2 separate regions of the Homo sapiens genome follow, and region 1 is linked to region 2. Evidence: promoter capture Hi-C in human tissues and cell types (Jung and others, 2019). All regions are on one chromosome and are shown on one strand. Each heading gives the region's core, a stretch centred on a gene start or on the middle of the fragment in contact. The rest is flanking DNA. Distances are from core to core; before and after follow the strand shown. Region 1 holds the start of HDAC6 (histone deacetylase 6). Region 2 holds the start of GLOD5 (glyoxalase domain containing 5).

Region 1 (2,700 bases), core at 161-2,660, 40 kb before region 2:
TCCTACTCATCAATCCGCTCCTAGAGAAGGACCCCTGTCTGTTGTTTGGTACATTTGTATCACCAACTCTTGGCACACAATAGGCACTCAATAAATGTTTGTTAGCTACATAAAAGAACCCTTTCAAGTGTGAGCCCTACCTCCCCAAATCATCTGCTTCCAGTATCCAGGCTGGGGTAAGAAAAGATTTATTCTTGCTAATGGGCTCTAAGTGTGTGTATTTTTGTGGTTTGGAGACAGCCTGGAGGACCCAGCCTCACCTGTCATCCCAGAGGCAATGGAATTCATTTAACTGCTCATCCAACACCAAGCCAGTGCCAGCCAGTGCTTCAGCCTCAAGGTTCAGATCCTGCAGAGGAAAAAAAAAAGGAGACACAGATCCATTTTAGGCCCTGAGTCAGAGGGAACTGTCCAGGGTGGGGAACCTTTGGGTTTTGATTGTCATACGAGGCTAAACTGCAGCCAGGCCCTGCTCACCATCCCTTGCAGTCCCACGATTAGGTCTTCTTCCATTGCTTGGCCGAGCTTCTTCATTTTGCCTTTCTTCTTTACCTCCGCTAGATTGGGGATAGAGCGGGGAACGGCTCCCTTTTTAATATTTCGCTTCTGTGAATCAGAGAGAAGGGTCAGAGTCCAGGGCATGACCAACTTGCTCCCTCTCCCCCTCATCAGGGCGGGTCTAGGGCCTCACCGAAGTGACACTGGAGTCCTGAGGGGGCGACTGGGGGTTCTGCCTACTTCTTCGCTGCCTGGTTGTGGTGGAATCCTGGCCGGTTGAGGTCATAGTTGAGGAGGCTTGGCCCCTGCCGCGGTTCTGGGGGTGGGGGGAGGAGCGTGGGTATGTGAGGGGGCTAGTGTGCCCTGAGGACCCCACCTCTCTGCCCTTTTCCAGGCTCCGCCCCCTCTATTAGATTCCATTCCTTACGCGATCTGATTCTCCACAGCCTTCCAAACTCCGCCTCTCTCAGGCCTTCTCCCTCCACTCAGGTGGCCATTCTACCCGGCCCCGCCCGGCCCGCTAGACTCCACCCCTTTTACACGATTCTCTTTCCCTGGTCTTGCCCTTTCACGGAGCAATGAGCCCCCGGGCTCACACAGTCCGTCTTAGGGCCTGCCCTTTCCAACCAATCACCGCCCCTTCTACTCTCCTAAGCCCCATTCCCAGACCCTCTAAGCCCAGCCCAGACCCCATTCCTTCACGAACCTGCCCTTTCGGCCTATCTCCCGGGATAATCACCCACCCTTTCACTCAGCCGGCCCCGGCCCCGACCCCGGTTTCGACTCCACCCTTAACGATTCACTTAACTCCACCCCTTATCGGGCCGGACCGGTACCTTCCACTCCGCCAGATCCCGCCCCTAGCGTTTCAACCAGCCCCGCTCCTCAGGGGACTGCCCCGTTCCTTCAACCAGCTCCACCCCCTGCCCAGACCCGACCGCTAACGTTTCGCTAACCCTCTTCAGCCAGTCCCTAGCCGCCTTCGGTCGGCCTCCGCCCCCTTCCCGCCTCCGCCGTCGACGCGCTGTACTCACCGCTCCACTCATTGGACGCAGCCCCTTTCTCAAACTCCGCCCTTGGCTCGCTCCACCAAGTTTCTGGCGACCTGTGGGGACGCGAGCGCTCAGGCTTTTCTTTTCCATTGGGCCTCGTCTCTCGACTGCCCGCCCAGATCCCGCCTCCAGAGGGGACCGTGCCTCAAGGCCGCGCCCCTCGCGCGAGCCACACCTCTCGCGAGCTCACAAGCGGCGGGGCGGTGCGTCGGCGTGCTACGCCAGCTGGGCTGAGCCACACCGCGAGCTCACAGGCGACGGGGCGGTGCGTCGGCGTGCTACGCCAGCTGTGCTGCGCCTACGTAAAAGGCAGGCGCCGGCGGTTCCCGACAGGGCTGCGGTGCAAGCTTTTTCTTGCCTCGGCTATCGTCGCTGTCGTCCCGGATGCCATAGCCGCCGCCCCTCCGTCCCTGTCCAGTCACTTAGGAGCCCTTCGGGTCGGCGGTGTCTGGAGAGCAAGCAAGGAAGCGAGGGAATTAGGAAGGGGCATCTTACCTTTTCCCCGCGACTTCCCGCGCGACGCGCCGTGATGACGTAGCGCGGGCGGGCTGGTTGTGGCTGGGCCGAGAGCGAGGTTGCCACTGGACGTTGGTGGTGGCGGCCAAAATAGGCGTGGTGACGATGCTAAATGTGAGGATTTTCCGAGTTAATATTCACTATGGTGGTACACAGGAAACACTGGCCGAATATTAGCTATTAATATTCTGCCGCAATATTCTGAGTGGAAGGAGTCTTAGTGGGGGCAGGGAATGGTAATGATAGCAAGTATTATGTGACAGGCATCGTTGTAAACCACAATTCTATGAGGTAGTTCCCATTATTAAGGCTGCTTTGCAGATAAGGAAACTGAGGTTACGGGACTTAACCATGTGACTTTGGGCAAGTTGCTGAACAGTTCTGTGCTCCGTTTCCTCATCTGGAAAGTTGTGATAATAATAGTGCCCAGGGCCAGAATGGCCTTGAGGATGGGAGTTCTCATGGGCAGCAGCTCTCCCTATCTGCCCCCTCCAACGGGTAACCACTGCTCCCAAGCAGTAATAGAAAGTGTGTGTGCGTCTGGGGAGCTGTCCCTAGGCACCCCCTCTCCCCCGCAACTCCCACTCCATGTCTAAATGTCAGCTCTGCAGGAGGCCGGTTTGTCCTCCTAATC
Region 2 (2,700 bases), core at 11-2,510:
CTATTCCTCCCATTATTCTATTCTTCCCTGCCAGCTTAGATTCACTCCCCAGATCCTGCTTTGCAGACTCGGAGCTCCATCCTTGCAAATTCAAGGACGAGCAGGGATGGCTGTCTTCAATAACAGGAAGGCCAGCGTAGCTCAGAACCCAAGAGTGAGTGAGAGATAAGTGGGAGGGCAAGGCAGGGTCTGGATCCTGCAGACTCTTGGAGGTGAAGTTACAAAGCCTGCTTTATAAAATGATGATCAAGACATAGTCATCACACAAAGGACTGGGTGCAGTGGCTCACGTCTGTAATCCTAGCACTTTGGGAGGCCAAGGTGGGTGGATTACATGAGGTCAGGAGTTTGAGACCAGCCTGGCCTACATGGTGAAATCCTGTCTCTATTAAAAATACAAAAATTAGCTGGGCATGGTGACGTGCACCTGTAATCCCCTACTCGGGAGGCTGAGGCAGGAGAATCGCTTGAACCTGGGAGGCAGAGGTTGCAGTGACCTGAGATTGCACCACTGCACTCCACCCTGGGCGACAAGAGCAAACCTCGGTCTCAAAAAAAAAAAAAAAAAAAGACATAGTAATCACACAAGGCTTACTGTGTGCCAAGCCCCGTTTTACACACTCTACAAAAATATAATCCATTTTATTTCTCACCACAGCATATAAAATCCCTATAGTCAGAGTGCCCGGAACACCATGTCCTTCCTCCTTTGGCCTCCTCTACAGGGAAGTGTTCTGTCTTCCTACAGGGTCCTCTTCAAGGTCCCCTTCAGGTTGCCAGGGGCCTCTGAATTCCTCTCCTAAAGCTCAAGGTCAGCGCTGTGTTTCCTAGCCTCTCTCCACATGGCCTTAATCATGACAGCTTTGGGGGCACCCTGCGTGAGCCACCTTTGTATCTCTCCACCTGTCCCTGGCTAAACTGGGGGAGGAGCCAGCCCTCAGCCCCGGCCCAGCCCTGCACACCTGAGCACAGGGCCCTCCATGGCTTAGAGCCGGGCCTTTCCATGGGCCTCTGCTGCCCTCTGCTTGTCTCTGAAAGAGAAAGGGAGAGAGGAGGACAGGAAATGGGAGCCCGCAGAGAAGGGAAACAGGTTACTAGACCAGTTTCAGTGCCAACACCCTTGCCCCAGATCCCCAGGGGCCATCTTGTTCACCTGTTTCTCCAAAGTCCTGCCCCACATCTTGACTGGCAGCCTGGAGGGCAGATGGCGCAGCATGGCAGGGTAGGCGTCTTTGCCCAGGGTCCTCCCGACAATCCTCTGGCTCAGCGCCTGGAGATCAAGGGGCAGGAATGGGAGGGCACAGGCTGAGGACTGTGGGAGGTGACACAGGTAGGTAGTGCAAATGGAAGGACTTTAACATTAAATTCAGGGCCTCAAAATTGAAAGCTTAAAGTGGATGTGTGTAAGGGATTACTTCTTGTTAACACTGAAGGCTGGGTGCGGTGGTTCATGCCTGTAATCCCAGCACTTTGGGAGGACAAGGCACGTGGATCACCTGAGATCAGGATTTCGAGACCAGCCTGGACAACATGGCAAAACCCTATCTTTACTAAAAATACAAAACATTAGCCAGGCATGGTGGCGGGCGCCTGTAATCCCAGCTACTTGGGAGGCTGAGGCAGGAGAATCGCGTGAATCCGGGAGGCGGAGGTTGCAGTGAGCCGAGATGGCGCCATTGCATTTCAGCCTGGGTGACAGAGCAAGACTCCATCTCAATAATAATAATACTGAAAAACCACCAAGTATTAAGGGGATCTTTATTCTAGCGTGTGATGCCTCTGGTCTACTTAGGGGTATGTCTCCAAAGTGTGAGATCTGTGAGCTGTTTGAGAGTGTGTGTCAGGGGTATGAAGTTGTGAGCTATCTGAGTTAGAGTATGACTGCTCTGACCCATTAGGTGTCTGTTTCCAAGCCAAGATCCCTGAACTCTTAAGAGTTCTGAGCCCCTTGGTCAAGCACGGTGGCTCACGCCTGTAATCCCAGCACTTTGGGAGGCCAAGGTGGACGGATTACTTGAGGCTGGGAGTTCGAGACCAGCCTGGCCAACATGGTAAAGCTCCATCTCTACTAAAAATACAAAAATTACCCAGGCATGGTGGTGTGCACCTGTAGTCCCAGCTATTCAGGAGCCTGAGGCAGGAGAATAGTTTGAACCCGGGAGGCGGAGGTTGCAGTGAGCCGAGATCGCGCCATTGCACTCCAGCCTGGGTGACAGAGTGAGACTCTGTTTAAAAAAAAAAAAGTTCTGAGCCCCAGGGTGTGATGTTCCTGAATTATTTTGGGGGATGAGTTTTGGGGGATGAGATTTGCAGTCTTCCTCCTCCTCCCCACTCACCCTTCACTCACCCTCACCTTCCGCTGCTGAGAGTCAGAGAACATTCATCAGCCCAGTTGCTGTTCACTTTACCCTGAGCAGAACTCCCCCATCTCCCTTACAGGTTACTTGTCTGGCCCCTGGAGCATGTGAGTTTGAGATTTTTGTTTCTAGTTACCCCCAACACAAACACTTTGTGTTGTGGATATTGTTTTGTTTTTGTTTTTTTTTGAGACAGTGTCTCACTTTGTCACCCATGCTGGAGCCCACTGGCGCCATGATGGCTCAGTGCAGCCTCAAACTCCTGGGCTCAAGGGATCCTCCTGCCTCAGCCTCCTGGGTAGCTGGGACTACAGGTGTGTGTCACCACGCCTGGCTAATTTTT

Evidence for each region. Contacts are between HindIII fragments. The study calls those that stand out against the background at their distance.
Region 1: a contact is called between the fragment with the promoter of HDAC6 here and the fragment with the promoter of GLOD5 in region 2, in 1 of the 25 tissues and cell types used here (adrenal gland).

What each region holds. Positions count from the first base shown.
Region 1 is chrX:48,800,777-48,803,476 of GRCh38, reverse strand. It overlaps HDAC6 (histone deacetylase 6), which reads right to left and starts at 1,410. Exons shown (of 29, transcript NM_006044.4): 1 at 1,335-1,410; 2 at 692-814; 3 at 478-606; 4 at 261-349. The coding sequence starts at 784. RefSeq lists enhancers at 759-838, 1,469-1,982, 1,829-2,098, 2,220-2,700 and a cis regulatory region at 2,559-2,700. The HindIII fragment of the contact is 8,538 bases long and covers 1-2,700 here.
Region 2 is chrX:48,760,307-48,763,006 of GRCh38, reverse strand. It overlaps GLOD5 (glyoxalase domain containing 5), which reads right to left and starts at 1,260. Exons shown (of 4, transcript NM_001080489.3): 1 at 1,154-1,260. The coding sequence starts at 1,216. RefSeq lists a cis regulatory region at 766-1,508. The HindIII fragment of the contact is 11,202 bases long and covers 1-2,700 here.